Regions from separate parts of the Homo sapiens genome. Here all the other regions are linked to region 5. Evidence: promoter capture Hi-C in 16 types of primary human blood cells and fetal thymus (Javierre and others, 2016). All regions are on one chromosome and are shown on one strand. Each heading gives the region's core, a stretch centred on a gene start or on the middle of the fragment in contact. The rest is flanking DNA. Distances are from core to core; before and after follow the strand shown.

The links. The method cuts DNA at HindIII sites, captures the fragments that hold promoters and counts their contacts. A CHiCAGO score of 5 or more calls a contact.
Region 1: a fragment that was not itself captured here is called in contact with the fragment with the promoter of PTPRK-AS1 in region 5 in 2 of 17 cell types (fetal thymus and total CD4 T cells); the score reaches 6.7 in fetal thymus.
Region 2: a fragment that was not itself captured here is called in contact with the fragment with the promoter of PTPRK-AS1 in region 5 in 3 of 17 cell types (naive CD8 T cells, non-activated CD4 T cells and total CD8 T cells); the score reaches 8.5 in naive CD8 T cells.
Region 3: a fragment that was not itself captured here is called in contact with the fragment with the promoter of PTPRK-AS1 in region 5 in 1 of 17 cell types (naive CD8 T cells); the score reaches 5.4 in naive CD8 T cells.
Region 4: a fragment that was not itself captured here is called in contact with the fragment with the promoter of PTPRK-AS1 in region 5 in 4 of 17 cell types (fetal thymus, naive CD8 T cells, naive CD4 T cells and 1 more); the score reaches 10.9 in fetal thymus.
Region 6: a fragment that was not itself captured here is called in contact with the fragment with the promoter of PTPRK-AS1 in region 5 in 1 of 17 cell types (non-activated CD4 T cells); the score reaches 5.7 in non-activated CD4 T cells.
Region 7: a contact is called between a fragment that was not itself captured here and the fragment with the promoter of PTPRK-AS1 in region 5, in 1 of 17 cell types (non-activated CD4 T cells). The highest score is 5.4, in non-activated CD4 T cells.

What each region holds. Positions count from the first base shown.
Region 1 is chr6:128,347,457-128,350,389 of GRCh38, reverse strand. All of the region lies in intron 2 of PTPRK (protein tyrosine phosphatase receptor type K), which reads left to right. Among named protein-coding and RNA genes, the nearest start is that of PTPRK, 170 kb to the left of the region's middle. The HindIII fragment of the contact is 3,565 bases long and covers 1-2,933 here.
Region 2 is chr6:127,741,651-127,744,867 of GRCh38, reverse strand. All of the region lies in intron 4 of THEMIS (thymocyte selection associated), which reads left to right. Among named protein-coding and RNA genes, the nearest start is that of LINC02536, 79 kb to the right of the region's middle. The HindIII fragment of the contact is 4,802 bases long and covers 1-3,217 here.
Region 3 is chr6:127,705,668-127,708,607 of GRCh38, reverse strand. It overlaps THEMIS (thymocyte selection associated), which reads left to right. Exons shown (of 6, transcript NM_001010923.3): 6 at 1-408. Among named protein-coding and RNA genes, the nearest start is that of LINC02536, 43 kb to the right of the region's middle. The HindIII fragment of the contact is 3,320 bases long and covers 1-2,940 here.
Region 4 is chr6:128,517,337-128,520,206 of GRCh38, reverse strand. All of the region lies in intron 1 of PTPRK (protein tyrosine phosphatase receptor type K), which reads left to right. Among named protein-coding and RNA genes, the nearest start is that of PTPRK, 1.8 kb to the left of the region's middle. RefSeq lists an enhancer at 1-434. The HindIII fragment of the contact is 2,326 bases long and covers 150-2,475 here.
Region 5 is chr6:128,026,603-128,029,434 of GRCh38, reverse strand. PTPRK-AS1 (PTPRK antisense RNA 1) reads right to left here and starts at 1,570. Exons shown (of 5, transcript NR_125849.1): 1 at 1,512-1,570. The region is part of intron 13 of PTPRK (protein tyrosine phosphatase receptor type K); the gene reads left to right. The HindIII fragment of the contact is 8,791 bases long and covers 1-2,832 here.
Region 6 is chr6:128,307,849-128,310,777 of GRCh38, reverse strand. The region is part of intron 3 of PTPRK (protein tyrosine phosphatase receptor type K); the gene reads left to right. Among named protein-coding and RNA genes, the nearest start is that of PTPRK, 210 kb to the left of the region's middle. The HindIII fragment of the contact is 1,216 bases long and covers 721-1,936 here.
Region 7 is chr6:128,330,896-128,333,922 of GRCh38, reverse strand. The region is part of intron 2 of PTPRK (protein tyrosine phosphatase receptor type K); the gene reads left to right. Among named protein-coding and RNA genes, the nearest start is that of PTPRK, 190 kb to the left of the region's middle. The HindIII fragment of the contact is 2,530 bases long and covers 54-2,583 here.

The DNA of each region.
Region 1 (2,933 bases), core at 139-2,638, 320 kb before region 5:
TTTAACAAAATTACCTTCCTCTACTTCTACTTTTGCACTCCAACATATATAATACCTGCTGATTGCTTCTTACAAAACACTGAAGGCTTTAAAATTAAGAACACTTTTATATCTGACCCTGATTGCTACCTTTAATACTTTCTACCTTGCTGTGAGCTAGCCCATGGGTGCCCTGTAAAAATCTAGTGTCTTTGATCCTCCAACTCCTTTTTCTGGCCTGTTATTTCTGGCTCCCATCCTGCTATTTGGAGTTTTTATTTCTCCCCTTCTGCCATCCCCATCAAGTGAATGCATGTATCAGTCCATAGACATGGACTTAGTACATAGTTTTCTTAGTACATGATTGCCTCTCAGTGCTGCTCCACATTCTAAAACTAGTGGGTGGATTGCCCATATGTGCTATTCTTCCCGGGACAGTAATGGTTCATACCTGTAGCCTGGGAATATTTATTAATAGTGCCCTGTTTCTCTGTGCAAAACTCTGTGTTTTGCTTTGGAGGAAGACTTATGTGGTCACCTGACCCATAAGTCTCCTATAATCATTAAAGAGTTTCCACAGTTGGCAACCTTGCCCAAATCCCAATGCTTAAATAGATTTTAAATGCTTAAAATTTCCTTATTACCCAAGTAAAACAGAACAAATAGACTATAACGCCTATACCCTTTCAACAGCACTTCTTTTCATCAAAATTTTTCATGTATTTTACAAATAAAGCCTATGACACAATGATTTTTTTATTCTTTTTTTTTTGAACGGTGTGAATATGTTTCTGTCTTTCTCTCCCTTATAACAGAATCAGCTTCTGAGGATATGCTGGCTTGTTTTTTAACTAAGGTGGTAAAACAGCAGCAGCTCTTTACCTAAAATATTGCAGTGGGCACCTCTCACCTCACATTTCATTTGTTCAATTATTTATATTTGGTACAATAAAAGAGAAGATAAGGCAGAGATCATGAAAGCATTAAACTACAATGAATTTCTGTATTTTCCTGTTGATATAATCTCTCATTCATCTGCAATTGTACATTCAATTATAAACCACTATCCAGGGAGATTTAGTTCTTGAAAAAAATCTACTAGGGAATATTTATGGGCAAATATATTTCAGTGTTTTATTTCCTGCTTACACTTGATTAAATGAATATGCAGAAGAGGTGTGAGGAATGGTAACACTCCATGATTTTAGGTTTGCTATAGTTTATTTTCCATTGCTCTAGGTTGACAGTGAAGTGTTGTTCATGTTTCTGGACATCAGATTTGAGTTCTTTAGGTTTCTCTTGGGAATTTTGTCTTATGCCTTATTCATACTTCTTTTCATGATTTTACCTTCATTTCTTTCTTTTCTGGTAATTGCCTTCTTATGTGGAATAAGGGAGGGCAAGTATAGTATGGAAATCTCTGTTTGCAAAAGCCCTTAGCAATTACTAACATTCTTAGATAGGTGGATTTTTATTCGCTTTCTTATTTAATAAGGACACAGTCATTTCTATGCTGTGGTGCCTACATATTTTTATTCATCAGTAGCCAAATTAGTGATTATTTTTCTTATCAGTGTTCAACAGGAAGTTTGATTTACTCCACCTCCAATTTAGAAGTTAAACAAATTGTTATAGAGCTTTCAGGTTTTCATACATATCTTATTAAAGAAATAGCTAAAAATACTTAATAAGTAACTGAAAAGTAATTCTCTTCAATTCGACCATTATATTGGATTATATTTCCAGTAAAACTTCTCAAAGAATGGAAATAGGGAAAAATAAAAATCGATCATACATTTGTTAACAAACTAAAATATTTCAGTTTACAAAAGGAAACGGATTGTCATTCTTACAGAAAATTTTGTAAACTTATGGCTTTAATATTCACCATGAATAAAATACAATAAACATAGTTTTTAAGTACAAATATATTTTAAAGATTTGGGGAAGGGTTTTTGTTATGTTAATATAATGAAAAGAAATTATTTTAATATATCTAACAACCATTTTATTTGCAAGTGAAAGACACTTTTTTATTGGACTAGAGATGGTGGATACTGAGTTCAAAACTTCATCTAGTAGTCTCCATCTGGATTTGACTAAAATAGCTTCTTTTTGGCAGAATTTTACATTTTGGGTCTTTGCTTAATCAGATTTGTTTCTTAATATTGCGTTCTTTCATATACTGAATTGATTAATTGGAAAATTTATTTGTGTTTTATATAAATAAGTATGTACTTGGAAATAATGTAGCCTCATTTCATGTTTCTGTAATAATAATGCTATAATGACTCTTGAATATTTTTATTCTCCACAGCTTTTTATAAAAGTATATGTGTTGTGTCAAAGCTACAATAGATGATCTGTACTTGAAAGCCATATCTTAACTTTTTTTGTCATATCCTTGGGGTAACTGACATAGTCTAATTCCCATAGGTATTGTATTTCTGATAAAGCAAGATTTCAAGAACTTAGAATAAACTTTATGAACAAAAATAAAATCGACGTATTAATGTTGCTATTTTATGGAATATTATGATGGTTGCACTTTTAAATTTTAATTACAACGTAGAGATCGGAGTGTTATAAATAAATAAAATGTGGGAAATTTTTAGATTTCTTAAAAAGTTTATTTCCTGATAATGTAACTTAGTAGCTCAGTTTGTAGTGGGTTGGATATTAATGTATTTCTCTCTTTTAAAACCATGTTTTACACGAGGAAAAACAGTAAGTGAGCTTAAAAAAGATCTGACAGATGAGATTGCTTTACCGTGTATTTATCTACTGTCCCCTTCCCCTCATACACATACTCACATGGGGACTTTTACAGTTTAAATGAAAACCATAAAGGTCCCTGGTATAGGTTTGACTTTCCTGCTTCTTAAAAACATATAAACAAACAAATGAAAAAAAATCAACATATCACATTGACCCTTCTTCACGGTAAATTCATC
Region 2 (3,217 bases), core at 13-2,512, 280 kb after region 5:
TGCTAATGTGTGTGTGTGTGTGTGTATGTGTGTGTAAGTACACTTGACATGGGATCTACCCTTTTAAATCTGTAAATGCACAGGATTGTATCGTTAACCACAGGCACTATATTGTAGAGCATATATCTATAATTTACCCATCTTGCATGACTGTAACTTTATATTCATTGAACAAGAACACCTCATGTCTCCTCTTATCCCCTTGCAATCAGTATTCTTTTTCTTGTTTTCACAAGTTTGACCATTTTAGATACCTCATGTAAGTGGAATCATGCAGTATTTGTCCTTCTGTGACTGACTTATTTCATTAAGTGTGATGCCTTCCAGGTCCATCCATGTTGTCACAAATGATAAGATTTCCTTCTTTTTAAAGGCTGAATAATATTTCATTGTATGAATATATCCCATTTTCTTTCTTAATTCTTCTGTCGATGGACATATGGATTGTCCCCCAATCTGACTATTGTGAATAATGCTGCAATGAACATGGAAGTGCAGATGTCACTGTTAGTCTTCACTCATTATTTTCAATTGTACATTTCTTGGAGGTGATGCAGTATGAAGAGCCTGGGGGTAACATAAGGATATTAAGAGAGGCTGAGGAATTGACAGAGACAAAATGATCAAGAAGAGACTATAAAAGACACATGTTGTTTCCACCAAAAATTTCCAAAGAATAAACCCCTCTTTAACATCCTGAACAAAGTGGCCAGACTCTGGTAAACCCAATAAAGACAGTTGAAGATTCTGCAACTCACTGGAGAATAATTTCCTGGTGCAGTCAATAAACAGTCTGTTCTAGGGTCAACACTGATCCTTGTACCTGATACCAGATGTTGAAAATTTGGTCAACATTTATTCAATACTTAATAAAAGTCTTATTTCCAGATTTCAGTTTTTTGTCTTTACTATCTACTTTTCCTAGACAAAAAACATTTTAAAGGATAATATATTTTATTGTTCAAAGTAAAATTAGTGAGTCGCACTTTAACCTAGGGAAATACCTGTAGTCATAACATGGAAATGACTAGAAAAACAGACTTGCTTTTTACTATTTATATATTGTATTCAACAGAAATAATTCCTAATAAATGATTCGCATTTATGATGCATTGTGTACCTCAGGAATTTGGGATAAGATTTATAAAAGAATTTGTTTTAATCATCATCCTTTTCATCATCACACATATGTGAAGCAGCCTGGGGGCACAATAAGATGTCTATAGTTTTGTTTGAATTCAGCATCTGCCTGCAAAGCTAATACCATAGCAACTAAAAAACCACTTGTACATTTTTCTTAAAAGACTCTATCCTAAGAAACCCTTTATACTCCCATTACATTTAAGGACTGAATGGTGTATCCTCTGAACATCACCATTCTGTCTTACTCTTTTTCCAGAGATCTCATTCTCTTACTCCCCTTAAACACCAGTCATATTTCTAAATGAACTTTCTCCCTTCATTTCATTCACATCTGTAAATTTCTGAATGTCAAGCAGACTTTTTCATTTAACTTGGCTTTGCGTGGGAGAAAAATTGAGGGTGATGGCATTTTCCTAGGCTTAGGCTTCGTATCTGGCATGTTTTATGCCCAGAAGAGTAGCAGTCAAGTGATAAAATTAAGGGGCTCTAATGCAAAACCATCACTGTATCTGAGATATCATTATTTTAACCTGGACAAGACAGTCACCTAGTGATGTTTTTGCCTTTTGGTGTTCTTTGGACCAATTTCTTATTAGGTTGCTTGCCCTTCTCAGGAGAATAGCCCATTTTCTCTCTCACCTTTCTTTAATGAATCACCTTTTATGTGCTATATATTATTTCTAAAATAATTTATTCTTCTATATGTTGGTCTTTTTAATAAATGATTTTTGCAAAATCCAAGAAGGAATATTCTTCATATTCTTTTTTATTCATGGTAAAATATACATAATACAAATTTCTACCATTTTAACAATATTTAAAGGTATACAGTTACAGTGTATTAAGGCCATTCACATTGTTATGGAACCATCACCACCATCTCCATCTCCAGAACATTTTTATCTTCCCAAACTAAAATCTGTACCCCTTAAATAATAACTTTTTATTTCTCCCCCACCCCCAGCCCCTGACAACCACCATTCTACTTTCCATCTCTATGAATTTGACTACTCTAGGTATCTCATGTAAGTGACATCATAACAATCTTTGACCTTTTGTGTCTGGTGTATTTCACTTACTATAATGTCTTTAGGGTTCATTCATGTTGTAGCATGTGTTAGAATTACTTTCCTTTTTAAGTCTGAATAATATCCCATTGTATCTATGTAAAATATTTTGTTTATCCATTCATCCATGAATGGTCATTTGGGTTGCTTCCACATTTTAGCTGTTGTGAATAATACTACTGTGAACATTAGTTACAAATATCTGTTAGAGTCTCTGCTTTTAGGTTTTTTTTAAATATACATAAGCAGAAGCAGAGTTACTACATCATTTGGTGATTCTATCTTTGTTTTGTTTTGTTTTTTTGTTTTTTTGTTTGTTTTTTTGTTTGTTTTTTTTTTTTTTTAAGCAGAGTCTCACTCTGTCACTCAGGCTGGAGTGCAGTGGCATGATCTCCGCTCACTGCAACCTCTGCCTCCTGGGTTCAAGTGATTCTCTTGCCTCAGCCTCCCAAGTAGCTGGGACTACAGGCACACACCACCATGCCCAGCTAATCTTTTTGCATTTTTTGATAGAGACGGGGTTTCACCATGTTGGCCAGGCTGTCCTCAAAACTCCTGACATCAGGTGATCTGCCTACCTCAGCCTCTCAAATTGCTGGGATTACAGGTGTGAGCCACCATACTCAGCCTGGTGATTCTGTGTTTAATTTCTTGACAGACCTTCATACTGTTTTCCACAATGGCTCATATCCTCCTTGCCCACTCTCCCTGTATTTCATGTGATCCTCTTGACTGTTCCACCTAGAATGTGTTTAAATTGTTTTCACTTGTTCTGTAGCAATATCTTTTATCATTTTCGCTACTGCCAGTTGCTTGGGACCAACTGTCACCTAATGGATTTTAATGGTTCCTTCTCTTATATCTAGCCTGAGCAGCCTCATGTAACCTTGACCCATTATTTTGGCCAGCCAGTAGCTGTTACTCTTATATTGCAGATTAAGAAATTAATTTGATCTCTGTTATGAGAATAAGCTGATGCAGCAAAGGATTTACTGAAAGGCAGTGTA
Region 3 (2,940 bases), core at 257-2,756, 320 kb after region 5:
GCAGATAAGAACAGAAACTTTTCTAAGACCCACATTTGGTTATTGAAGGCCACAGCGAATCTTAACCTAACAGCCTTGACAAACTGCACCATAGGTGTTTTTAGACTCATATAATTTGTTATTTTTCAAACAATAGTGAATAATTAATATTTTTGTTTGGAATTTGAGAACAATTAAATTTGTACTTTTAGTAACTACCATTCTTTGATTAGAAAATTAAGAGAATGCATATCTTACTTTGGTTGTAAATTATCAAGGGCTTTCTAATAGAAATCATATATAACATTTCTAAATATAAGTCCTTTCACATACTGTGTTTCCAGTTGTCTTGATATTGAAAAGTGTAATAAACTTCATGCTCACCTATTGGAGATTTGGGAAGGTTGAAAATAAACTTCCTAATTTTTATTTGTATGTGTTCTCTTCTATGTTTAACTCTAGAATAACTATCTTCCTGTAACGATTAAGTTAAAATATTCTTTAACTAGAATTGAAATAAATTGTTCACTAAGGAGGGGGCTGCTTGTGCTAAAAAAGCCATGAGGAGGGAGATTGTCCTCCCTGCCCTCTCCATCCCCTATGGACTTACAGTGCTGAGCTCAGTCATAATGACCAAATTTCACAGCATGGCCAAGCTGCATAGATAGGTGCCAAAACTACCAATTATTAATATTGGCCTCTTCCTAATTGAATCAGTCAAGCAGTTTTGGAAAAGGCTGTCAGAAAGGAGTGAGAAATGGAAAGAGGAAAATGTGATTGTTGAGATGGGCTAGCTCAACTCTTACATCCAGGATTTTAATAGAAAAACTCTTTAAGATTAGAGTCAACATATAATGAGACTTTTAGGTGTTTAACCAAAGGTTCTTGGTTCAAGTTGCCTCTAAAAGGAAGATGATAACATGTAAAACGCTGGGGAGAGTCAGAATTAGGATCTAATTATAACCCCGGTAGGCTGGACTACTAAAAATGAAATCCAATAGAATAAAAATATTCTTTTGATTTTACCATGAAAATATTTCCACAACTATAACACTTCTGACTGCTTCTACTTCTACTGCTGTGGTCCAAACTTCAGTCATCTCTGTTGGATTATTGCAAAAACCCTGTAACAATTCTTCCTGTTCCTGCCCTTGCTACCTATCAATCTATTCTGATTGTGAGAACCAGAATGATCTCATTAAAATATGTGCTATTATTACACACCACAGTCATGTCCTACCTCATTCAGAGTAAAAGCCAAAATTCCTAAAATGATCTAGAAAGGTGTGCACAATACATTCCCATTCTCTCTCTGTACTCTTCCTATTCGTTTTGCTCAAGTCATGCTGACCTTCCCATTTGATATGGTTTGGATGTGTCCCCATCTAAATCTCGTCTTGAATTGTAGTTCCCATAATCCCCATGTGTCATGGGAGGGACCTGGTGGGAGGTAATTGAGTCATGGGGACAGTTTCCCCCATGCTGTTCCCCTGATAGTGAGTGAGTTCTCATGAGATCTGATGGCTTTTATAAAGGCTTTTTCCACTTTTGCTTGGCACTTCTTGCTGCCACCATGTGAAGAAGGACGTGTTTGCTTCCCCTTCTGCCATGATTATAAATTTCCTGAGGCCTCCCCAGCCATGCTGAACTGTGAGTCAATTAAACCTATTTCCTTTATAAATTACCCAGTCTTGGGTATACCTTTATTAGCAGTGTAAGAATGGACTAATACACCATTATTCATCAACCATGCCAGGGCTATTCCTACCCTGAGGCCTTTGCATTTGCTGTTCTCCCTGCCTGGAACACTTTTTGCTCTCCTCTCCACACAGGTCACTCCCTTACTTCCTTTAGGCTTTATCCACATATTACCTTCTCAATGTGCCTTGCTCTGGCCACCCTATCTCAAACTGTAACCTCAACTCTTATTGGTCTTTCTATCTCCTTCCCTGCCTTAATTTTCTCCATAATAGTTTATTCTATCTAACAAGCTATATCTTTTACATGTCTTGTTTCTTTTCTGTCTCCTTTACACTAGACTGTAAACCCCCTGAAGGCAGGATTTCTTATTGGTTTCTGCACTACACCCAGACACTTAGAATAGTGTCTGGCATATATCTGGCACTCAATATGTGTTTGCTGAATGAACTGATTAAAGTTAGGAATATGAGAACTCAAGCCAGACTGCCCAGGTCTGAATACTGACTCCCTGTTTACTGGGTTGCCTTGGATAAGTTTGTGAGCCTCCTTCTGCTTCAAATTCCTACATATATGTAAAATAGGGACTAAAATAGACTCTACATTGTAGAGTTGTTGTGATAATTTGATGAATGTATAGATGTAAAGTGCTTGGAGCTTTGTCTGAGAAAAAGTAAGTCCTCAATGCATTTATGTGTTTTTATTTTATAATATATATATGTTCTAAATTATATATAAAATATTACATCAAGGTTTTTTAGTTTTGGAGTCTTGCATCTTTTCTTCTTTGAGTTTTCTTTCTTTCCCACTTCCACTCTTATGTGCCATGACAAATACTCATCTAGTCCTTGTTATCTTAGCTCAGGTTCCCTAGAAGCACAGGTTAAGGGGGAAGATACTCGTTCAGTGGTTTATTGGAGTGTTCTTAGGAGAAATCTGTATGGAAGTGGAAGAAGTCAGCAGGATAGGAGAAGGATCTAGATAAATACATGGTTTCATAAGAACTCCAACCTAATCTTTCCAGCCTGATCCTAAGGGTACCCTGGAGCATGGATTATACTACTGTGTTGATCCCTCAGCTGAACCTTCAAAAATTTGTTCCAAATCCAAGAGGCCAGCAGGTTCCAAATTGTGTACCCTATGATACAACAAATGAGTCCCATAGGTATATCCCACTGTTGCATCTCCCTTGTGACAAATTGTGTCACCTGGTCTGAGATGATATTACACAGGATATCATGTTGGGAGAACAGAAATTCTGTG
Region 4 (2,870 bases), core at 63-2,562, 490 kb before region 5:
GGGGTGAGCCAGGTCCCCGCTAGGGCTGGGGACAAGGATCGTGGGGAGCTCTCTCTGTCCGGGGGTGGGGAACACAGGGTAGAGGGAGGGCTGTCCCCAGAGTTCGTGCCAGGTGGGACGCGGGGCACCCATTGTTCCTCTCCGAAGCTTGCTCGGGGCTCAGGCTGGCACGGTCTAGCCGGAGAGTGTGGGGACCTGCTGGCTTCGGCGTCTCGCGTGGCCTGCGCCGGGCTAGTGGGGAAGAGAGAAAGAAAAAGTAGTTACGACTCCCGTGACGGCACTCTGTTGCTTGTGGTGCGGGTTTGTTGCTGTCTGCCACTTGGGTGTTTAAACAAATTCCCTGGGAAGCCATTGTCAGAAATGTGGAGATTCGAAGGGACTGACCTCGGCGCGCTTTGCCAGGTGCTTTTTGTCCCGGGAATAACCTCCCCTGACTATTGTCTAACTACTTCCCCGTCCCTCCCGGAGTCCCCTTTTCTCCTCCCCCAGCTCTGGGTTGCTCCCGGGCTTGCCCTGTGCGCTCGGGCACTGCTTGGAGCATGTTCTGTGTGTGTGTTGGCGGAGCCCTGTAAGATGTGTTGAAATGCGGTTCTAAGGACCCACTCTGAGCGTTCATGGGCATCGAGGTCTGGGCGCCTGGTGGAGGAAGCCTGACTCGCGCGTGGGAGCCCGCTCCTCGGGCAAAACCACCGCCAGGCTGGCCCCGCGCTCCCCGGATCCGGCCTGGGGCTCTGGCCCCGCGCTCCCCGGATCCGGCCTGGGGCTGGAAGCGGACTGTAAATGTCTGCCTTCTGCCGGAGAACCCAAAAGGAGACAAGTGGAGCGTCTCGCTGTAGCCCTGGGGGTTCTCGGTCAAGCCGCTCAGAGAAGTCCGTGAACCCTGGCTCTCCCGGTCCCGCCCTCTGTTCCCCTCCAGTTTTGTTATCCTTCGTGTAGGTTGGTTGCTTCTTTCGTTCTCTCCTCTGGGGGCTCTGAAGTTTCACCAGGTGGACGCTGGGGAGCGGGCTCCCGAGCACTTGTCTACCTCCCGCCAGTCCTGACAACTTTTCTGGCCAACCTACCCAGCTTCGCTTGGCTGGCGAGCGCATCTGCTGCTGGGGTTCGCGGTGCAGATGGAGACGCAGTGGTGGCCAGAGGGTGATGGAGAAGACGGGAAAAGCGACAGCCACGCTCCTGGCTGAAGCCGCAGGACGCAAATAACTTACTTTGTACCTGACAGTTTCTCACGTTGTTGTGGAGGCCCTGTTTCCTGGAAATAAACTCAAATTGTTGTTTTCTGGAGTAATCGTTTATTTCCCTTCCATTGCTCTCCTACCCCCGCCCCATTTAGAACTCTGTAAAGGGAGTTAAACAACAGATTCAGGTGGCAGCATGTGTCGTACATTCAGGCAGAGATTATGAAATGGCAGCACGCAGAGGAAAAGCCCTGTATATAATTGATGTACGCAGAGGGTAACAGCTCTATGCAAAAAATAATCCAATGGTTTAATTGAATTCTTTCTGGAGTAAGCATTACTGCATGCATTTCTGACATATAATGCCCGTTAGCATTGAAACCGTGCTTGATGTAACTCATTATATGCAGGCAAGTTGGAGTGAGTATTGATTTCTGCACAGTGTTTGTCACTGCACGGAGAGCCTACGCTTGAAAAGGCTTGTAGTTTGTTAATTGAAAGTTTGAACTCTACCAGTTGCATAATTAAACTTACATGTATTCAAGAGTTGCAACTATTAATGTCTCAACAGCGATGGATATATTTTCAGCAGTTAGAAAACTTTTTCTCTTTTTAAATGTTATTTACCCTTTAATTAACAAATAAATACTACTTTTCCTCCAGCTGAATGTGAAAATGAGCTTTTCTGATACCTGGAGTTTAGATACGTACAATAAACAATTGTGTTCTTAGATATCTAGTTCTAAGTACTTTAACTAAATATGCCTGGCTTTTCTTTAGTGACAAAGCATAACATTTGACATGATGTTGTATATTTAATTAATATAATGTGCATTCCTAAAAAGTACAGTAATCACAGGATTGCATCTCAAGATTTTGCCCTTTAGGAATGTATGCCCAGAAATGAATGTCTTTTATTCCCAGAGTTTAAAGTCAGATTGTGGATTTGCCTTTCTCCACAAATTATAAGTTTGTTTTGTAAATACTTCCTTTTTTTTCTGGCTACCATAAATCATTTGATATTTTATTGTCATAAAATTCTATGGCAGTCAGATTTGTTGCAGACATAGATTAGAGATGTATTGAAGATTGGAGGTGTATTCCATATTGCTGGTTTTTCTTATATTTTACTTTAACTAGTGAACTTTTATTCCTTTTGAGAAATTTAAATAAACCCACTTTAAAAGTCCAAGACAAATTCATGTTGAGAATTTAAAAATATCTGAAGTATGTCTTTCAAATCATACTCATTAAGATCAGTTTACTTTCCGATATCATGTGGTTCCTAATGTAGTAAGCTTCAAAAGCAAATTTTGAAAGGCTGAGCATTGTTGGGACTTTGATGTGTCATATACTTATTCAGTTTTCTTTGTTTAAACCAAAAATGTAAGAGTGTTTTCATTATTGTGACTTTTTTCTTAGCTTTTGCAGTTAAAGTGTAAAACTGCTGCACTGTGAGCCTCTTTAAAACCAGAACGTTCTGTAAATCCCAACTCATACATTCTTTCAGTTTCACCTCTCACTTAAAATGACACCCATGTCATATCTGAGGAAACCGAGGCATAGAAGAATAAAGAAGTATTAAAGTTTATTCACTGGGTTGTATAGCTGTGATCTCTTGATATAATGTAAGAAAGTTTTCTGTAGAAGGACTTAGATGACTGACGAAACCAGATGCAGGTAAGGTGACTTGGA
Region 5 (2,832 bases), core at 321-2,820:
CACCTGCCTCAGCCTCCCAGAGTGCTGGGATTACAGGTGTGAGCCACTGCATGCAGTCAGAGACTGGGTAGTTTATAAAGAGAAGAGGTTTAAATGGTTCATGGTTCTGCAGGCTGTAGAGGAAGCGTAGTGCTGGCATCTGCTTCTGGTGAGGGCCTCAGGGAGCTTACAATCATGGCAGAAGGTGAAGGGGAACCATGTATCACTTGGCAAGAGAGGGAGACAGGAGAGGGAAGGTCCACACTCTTTAAACAACCAGATCTCACAAGAACACTCATTACTGTGAGGATGGCACCAAGGCATTCGTGAGAGAGCCAACCCCCAAAACCAAAAACCTCCCACCAAGTCCCATCTCCAGCATTGGGGAATACATCTCAGCATGAGATTTGGAGGGCACAAACACCCAAACTGTATCAGTTGATCAAGAACTGACCATGGAAGATGGATAGTTGAAGTCACAAGCAGTCCAGCACAATTCTAACCTTACCATGAATCTGAATTCTTAGCTCACTAAAGATTTAGGAACAGAATTGGGGAGTAGAATTATGGTCATGTAAAAATAGAGTCCGTTTAACATCCTAACCTTAAATCAGAAACCATCAAAGCATCATATCAACAAAAAAATTGTTTTCACTTATGAAAAATATGAATATTAACACAATTTTGTTGCACACTTACTCTCTGCCATATGTCTTACACTAGGCATTGAGAAAATACTAAAAATACATAGGATATGTTCCATGCTCTCAAGAAGTTGTGAATTGTGAAAGAACCTGATAGTTGAAGTAATAATTTCATGCAGTGTGCCTAAACATGAAATAGAATTCCATACAAAGTGACATTTAAATAGGTAGAAAAACCAGAGACCATATCCACACTGGTAACAGCATGGGCAGAGGTTTGCAGTTAGACATGAAAGTTAATGCAGTGTTCAAGAATATACTGAGGAGTTAGTAAGAAATTAGGCTAAAATGTATGTTGATACAGATATGAGAAAGGGCTGTAAGACTCAAGATTCACTTTATCTTGAGGGCAGGGTGGCAGCTATCAACAGTGCTAAAGCACTTTCTCTTCCACTTTAAAAATTAAAACAGTGTGGTAACCTTAAAAGGTGTTCTGAAACAATATTCTAAGCAACTGTTATCACTTTTGCTTTTTCCTTTTTTTTATCAGGTGCTTACTTAAACATTTCTCATAATTGCAAAGATTGTGACTTGTAATTATTTGTAGTTACTATTTTACCATGAGCTTTACCCACATTTTTATGTGTTTTAATTTTAAGTGGCTAAATATTATTATAAATAGTGTGTGCAGTATAATTTATATTCGTCATTTTCATTTTCCCTGAAATCTTTGTAGGCTATTAAGAAGAACAATGATAGGATCATATTTAAGTTTTAGAAAAATGACACCTTAAAAGCTGCAGGTAGATTAGGATGAGTAGGACTTGGAGTCAGAAACTTCAATAAGGGAGTGGCTGCAATATAGACTAGGAAAGAGGTGATACCAACCTGTCAGTGTCCTCATCGGTAAAAGAAGATACAGCTGGGCACAGTGGCTTATGCCTGTAATCCCAGCACTCTGGGAGGCCAAGGTGGGCGGATCACTTGAGGCCAGGAGTACGCACCAACTTGGCCAACAGAGTGAAACCCCGTCTCTACTAAAAACAAAAATTAGTCAGGCACAGTGGCACACGCCTGTAGTCCCAGCTACTCGGGTGGCTGAGGTAGGAGAATTGCTTGAACCCAGGAGAAGGTTGCAGTAACCTGAGATGGCTCCACTGCACTCCAGACTCGGTGACAGAGCAAGACTCTGTCTCAAAGGAAAAAAAAAACATACAACAAGCCTCATAAGTGCTTGTGAAAGCTAATTGAAATAATATATTAAAAGAGTTTGGCATTTAGAAAGCTCTGAAACGATCATTCATTTAACAGAGGAAGCTATGAACATTTTTTTTTTAAAGGTCAGTTTGACTTTTAGGCACCTGATTTCCTGAAGGACTCTTTGAACTCTTTGAATGTGGGTACTGTTTTATGCATTTTCATGTGATAACTAAACAGCCTGATTTACATTCTTGCCCAATATACGTATTTCTTCAAATAATGAACTAATGAATTCCCGGGCAATAAATACCTTTTGGTTAAATGGACAAACAGTTCTGTTCAGTGGGAAACATGCTAGTAGAGTCTGCTTTTAAAGGAATTGCTGTATGCAGTATTCTAAGAAATAATGAGGAAGTATTTTTACTTCAAAATACTTTGATCATAATATGATGATAGGTATTTTCTTCTCTTGCCTGTGAAAGTGTGTGTTAGGTATGTACATTATGGGGCCAAACTAGTGATTGTTGCTAATTAGGATATATGTGGCGCATTCTATCAAGAATCCCAGTTTTCTGGGCACTGTGAGCTGTAAGTCAAGTCATAAAAAGGAGTGAATTGTCTTTTTCATATATAGCACTGAAATTGACTGGAGTTAATTATTTAATGCCTACCTCCCCTACTAGACTACAGGCTGTGTCACACACCTCCCTCAGCATCTAGCACAGCAAATGGATTTAGTAATATTTATTGAATAGATTAAGAAATACAGAGTGAATAAAATAGGACACTGGTTGGAGTGTTGGGTCAACCACAATTTTGGTGTGATATATTCTACATATCACAGTGAGAAGGAAAATGATATAAAATGAATAATATCCTCCTTAAAGTACTATACAAAAAGAATACTTCTTATATTTTTTCAAGATGATGTAATCTTGTCAAATATATAATATGTTGCATGCCAGTGCTTTCTTAATCCTTAATAGTAATACCAGTAATTGTATATTAA
Region 6 (2,929 bases), core at 79-2,578, 280 kb before region 5:
GCTGTTCACAAATGGACCTGCTGGTTTTAATGCAGCCCAGTTAATAAATGGCATTCACTCAGCATACAGCCAAGAGTACTCCATTGATTGGCAGCAGGAAGCTCCTTGTTCATGTTGAGAGTTCCTTTTTGCGGTGCCACTTGCCTCTGAGAATTGTCAGTGGGCTGCCTTCACAGTGCAGCAAAAGGTCCTTTCTGCTTTTTCATTGCCATTTGCTTCCCAGTTTGGAGCCAGTTGAGTTATTTAGCTATGGGCCTGAGTTGTGTAAGGTACAGCATTTTTAAATGAGTTTGTTTTTGTGTCTTCCTTGTTCGGAGTTTTTTGTTTGTTTGTTTTTTTGGAAAAACATCCAGCAAAGGATACGGAAGGCAACGTTATCCTGTGCTTCTTAGTTATCACTATGCTAACTGAAATTCAGTGGACTACCCTTGTCAAGAGGTTATGCCGTATATTGAGTTTCAGCCTTGGGTCTCACTCTAGTTCAGAGAGAGCTCATGTTACAGAAACAATCCTCTCACCTCAGCCAATAAATCCTAACAAATCATCTCTACACCCAGTGAGACCATGTATATCTATCAGCTATCTTATGGAGTGACCAGAAATCAGAGAGAAAGAAGGCACAATCTACTTCCCCTGTTATCCAAGTAAAAGCTTAGTCATCTATAACTAACTTAATAAAGCATGTGCTTGTTGGGTAAAGACAGAGTAGCTCACTAAGCTTAGAAAAGAAAGATAAGAGAAAGGCTATTCATTGTCTAGTACCTTTGCATTTCTGATTAGCCTGCATATAAGTGGATGGCATTTTTTTTGTAGGCACCGAGACTGGAACTTTCCATATTATTTTTCAATCTTATTACCTCTACTAGAAAGACAGTGGATAAGGGAGATTACTTAAACCATTTTTTGTGATCATATTGTTGGGAGGGAGTGAACTGGTACCAGGGAGAATTGGAAATTTTCTATAAAAATGGTGTTAATTTATTAGCCATGAGAAGGAGAAATAAAAAAAATCAGAATATCTTAATTCAGAGGGAATGGTTTGGAAAATATGAATTAGAATGACATTTGTACTTCTTATTACAAGCTGGCCACACAACATTTTTTAATTCTTAAGTTTTTTTAAGGTTCTCTCCTTCCATAATATAAAACAAAGAGGCTGATGAGAAGTTATTTCAGCTGCTGAGGTAACAGACTTTGACGGCAGTAACTCCAGTGTGGGGAGGTCAGCAAGCTGCTTTATGTAGCAGCTACCACACTTCAGCATAGCCATTGCCTTGTGTAGGGTCCGAACGTTGGTTGCAGACCAGGACTCCTGCATCTGGTCTGTAATGATTTCCTACTCTCTAGATGATCTGAATTGATTTCTGATTACTCCTGGACTCTAGGCTCCCCCACCCCTCTCTGCCATCAGCTTTGTTCCAGGAAGCCCCATTTATACCCTAACTTTCACTTCCCACTCCTCTTCCAAGAGGAACCATGTCCCTATTAGGAAAAGATTTTGTCCTTGCACCAGGGGTTAAGAGAATTGAGAGTAGGAGAGGTGATGTCTGTACCATGTCTTTTAGTTGGTCTCAGTTTTTAAAAAGGTCTAGTGAATGCTCAGTTGGATTAGACTGTGTGGTAAGTGAAAAAAGAATGAAAAATATTAAATCTTTGAATTAAGAAGTTGTTCTCTAGCAGGGTTGTAATTGATAACCTATTGACTTGACTGTTGAGTGGTGAGACATTTAATATAGAGAATGGCAACCCTATCATTTTTTAGTGCCCAAGATTATAATATTATTTATTTAAAAGTGACATGTAACCTTAACAATGATCTGCCTTCTCCTGAATCTTTGATTCTTTTCTCCAGGCCTACTCCGGTGTACACCACGTGTCCACTGATGCCTACCTGTCTCTTTGCAAATATGTAAAGGTTTCATTCAGCTGCAAAGCTTGGCGAAAGTTTATGAAACTTAAGAAGAATTGATGTACAGAAGGACAGTGAAAAACTTTGCCCTGTCTTTCTGGACATATGTTCTTCATAGCTGGACTTCGTAGGGTGGTTTTTACTTAATGCCTCTAGTTCCTTTCAAATTGTCTCATAACTTGTAACTTGGTTGCTATTCCTTTCATGCGTCGAAAATTGCTGTCTTCTGATGAGATATCTCTGACTTTTCCCAAGTCCTTATTCCCGTTGACTTCCATGTAATATTTGAGATTATTGGACTCTCCTTCCTTCCTTAGATATAAAAGCCTATACTATCCTTTATTTTTTGGTAAACTTTTTTGATCGTTTTTTCTTTTTTCACCTTTTTAAAAAAAATTCCTCTAAATGCAAGCAGTTCGTGTATTTAATTTTCTTTTATTAATATTTATTTTTGGTGAAATATTTTATACATGACTAATCAGGAAATATAAATAATAATAATATATGTATGTTTTATGGAAATCGACTTAATCTTACCAGTACTTCCTAAAAGTTTCTCTCTATTAATCACTTTCCTTCTATCCTAAGGAATGTAGTATTTTGAATTTTTTGTTCATCATTTTGTTTCTTTTTTCTTTAATTTACTTTAAACAAATATTTTGTTTTATACAGTTAACAAATGTTTTATAAATGGTATCATGATTTGTATATTTTTTGGCTACTCGATTTTTTTTTCCCAGTCAATATCCAGGTTTATGTAGTGGTAATCATTTTTTTCAGTGTTGTATAGCATTCTATTTTTGAATAAGCTGAAATTGATTATTCAGTCATTTGTCTATGGATAGTTGGGTTGTTTTCTGGTTTTCTAGTGGTAATATTTTTAAAAATGTTGTTATGAGCATTCATGTACATGTGTATGATATTGCTAAGTAGTGATATTGCTAAGTCATGTGGTTTATGTATTCAACTTGTTGACTCTAAGCTGTTCACCAAAATGACTGAACAATTGGCATTCCAGCT
Region 7 (3,027 bases), core at 69-2,568, 300 kb before region 5:
AGGAATAACTGCAGGTCTCTCACTTTAAATCAAAAGCTAAAAATGATTAAGCTTAGTGAGGAAGGCATATCAAAGCTGAGATAGGCCAATAGCTGGGCCTCTTGTTCCTGTTAGCCAAGTTTCGAATGCAAAGGAAAAGTTCTTGAAGGAAATTGGAAGTGCTACTCCAGTGAACACCCAGATGATAAGAAAGTGAAACAGCCTTATTGCTGACAGGGAGAAAGTTTTAGTAGTCTGGATAGGAGATTAAACCAGCCACAGCATTCCCTTAAGCCAAAGCCTAATCCAGAGCAAGGCCCTCAACATTGAGGCAAGACCCTCTACTAGCAAAAAGATAATGACTTGCTGAAGGCTCAGATGATTGTTAGCATTTTTTTTAGCAATAAACTATTCTAAAATTAAGGTATATATTTTATATATCTTATATACCTTTTTTTTAGACATGATGCTATTGCACACTTAATGGACTACAGTATTGTATAAACATAACTTTAATATGCAGTGGGAAACAAAAAATAAAAATTTGGTACCTTCAGAAATAATGTGACTACCGAGTAGAATGTTTTGACTTTGAGAATATTCATTTACATAGAAATCATAGATGTGTTGTGCACTCATTCTCTTTAGACCTTCAGTTCTGGTCTTTAATGTTTAACAGTGTTGAAGTATATCCAGACAACAGGTGGGAATTGTTAGCATGATTTTTAGTCTTCAGGCAGTTTCCAGGGAATACAGGCCACACTACCTTCTCTTACCTTTAATTGTTCATTTCAATCTTGGATCTTTTGGAAAGGTGAGTGATGATTACAAAATTGGCCACAGGACAAAGCCTTTATTGCCTTTTGGGTCATGTTACTGATTATTTTCTCTTAAGTTGCTTTTCTTTTTAGCAGCTACTTCTCAAAACTTTTCACTACTATGTAACATAAAAGCTGTGCAGGTTGGATAGCTGTAGGAGAGTGCCATGATTTCAGAAATTGGAAAAATCTTAAAACAAGAGTTCTTAAACTTAGATCAATGAGTCCTTTGAAATTGTTGGTGAAGTAAGTGTGTGTGTTTCTTGGAGTGGGCGTTGAGGCAACAATACTTTAAATTTACTTCAGATTTCAAAGAAAGAGTGAGAGAGGGAGGGTTATAGAGGAATAGGAAGGATAAGACTGAGAAAGAGGCCTGACTCACTTTGGGATGAAAGGGATAGGTAGAGTTGTGAAGGGAAGGGTTAAGAAAGGTTATGAAGGTTAAGTGCCATTAAGTTGGAAGTTTTTAAGTGTACCACCCTTTAACATTGTCATCTCATTTTTAAACTTCGAAAGTATTCTCTTCATACATTTTCTAGTTTTATTTTCTTTACTGTTTGGTGGAAGAAGGAATGAGTACGTCTAAAGGAACAAGTATTGAAGACCCATCTATTCCTCTCGTCAGTGTGCCTTCGCACATCATGGAGGTAGTCTCATTTAGTCCTCACACCGGACCTCAGTGGGGTGGGCACTTCAAGATGAGGAAACAAGACAGAGAGGGGTTAAATTATTTGCCCAGGATAAACAAGTAAATAGATGTGTAGGAAGTAGGGAAAATTGGAGTCCTGGAAGGTACTGGAAAGGAAATCAAAACCTATTATAAAATTAGCCACTTTTAAATAGGAAACAGATGGCACTAATCCTTTTAACTATTTATGACATAGGTTTCCTATGTCATAAAGATGAAACTGGAAATTTTGTTCGTCAAAGTAATGGCCAAGTACTTGTTTTTTGTCTCCTTAAGATGTAGTAGGGGAAGGGGATTAAACTATAAAACAATGCTTGGCCAGGTTTCTAAATCTTAATGTGTAGTGTAGCGGGTAAATTCCATGAGGACACCCACTTCCTAAGAAGGAGAAATTTGCTACTTTCTACTGAAACTTTCATTTTAGTTTTTTTGTGTTGCCTGAAGGTTTTTAGAAGCTATTATCTTAAATCCATACATTTTTCTATTTTCAAATGTAAACTGGCTACCTAGAACAAATACAAAGCACTTCCTCAGAGATCAAGAGAAATTTTGTCATTCGGACTGTGAAGGAAACAGGTTTATATTTTTACAAGGCAATGGGAGGGACATGTCACGGATACTAAAGTTGTTGGAAGTAGACTCCTGCAAAGATGCAAATTCAGTTAATTTGAAGTTTGGGGGACAAGTTTACTTTTTCTAACTTTTTCTGACATTTTGTAATATTTGCCTCATACTGTCTTAGAAACAAACTGTATGATGTAGGGGATAGACCTCATTAGAAGAGAAGCATCCATCTTAAGAAGTAATAGAATGTAAAAGCTCGAAGAATTAAAACTAGACTGTACAAAAAGTGATGGCACTGATGTCCGTCTAACCAAATTAATGGAGTATTTTAGGGTTATTCTCAAGATTGAAAATTTTGCTTATTATCATTTCAAATTTTACTCTTTTTTTTTCTCTTTGACTATCTTTGAAAAAAAAACAATACTTAAAAAAATATTTTTGCTTACCTTCAGTGGAGCTTGCCAAGTTTACAGGTTACACAGTCCCTCTGTTAGGGGCTGGCGAGGCCAAAGAGGTTTCTAATCTTAAAAAGCTTGCACTAGGGTTTTGGGGATGCACAGACAGATATGGTATATTTTGTACATAAAAGAGCATTATGTAAGTGCTATGGGAATGCAGGGCAGGAAACACAAATAGATAGTTGTCCGACTTTTTTATAAAACATCCAACTTCAAACTGAATACTCCAGACCTTGTTCTAGATTTTTGGATGAACAACATACATGAAATCCCAACTTTTCATGGAGTTTTTCAATTAAGTAAACAAATAAATTCAGTAAGTGGAAAGTGCTATAAAGGAAATAATAAAAAGTGATATGTTAGAAAGAACCCTGGAAGGAACTACTTTAACAGACCTAGGAATGCTGCACCAATAGATGAATGATGAAAATCAGCCAGCTGAGGACAGAGCATTTCAAACAGAGGAAGGTCCAGTGCATGGAGACTGAGACAAGCATAAACTTAGGTGTTTTTTTGTTTT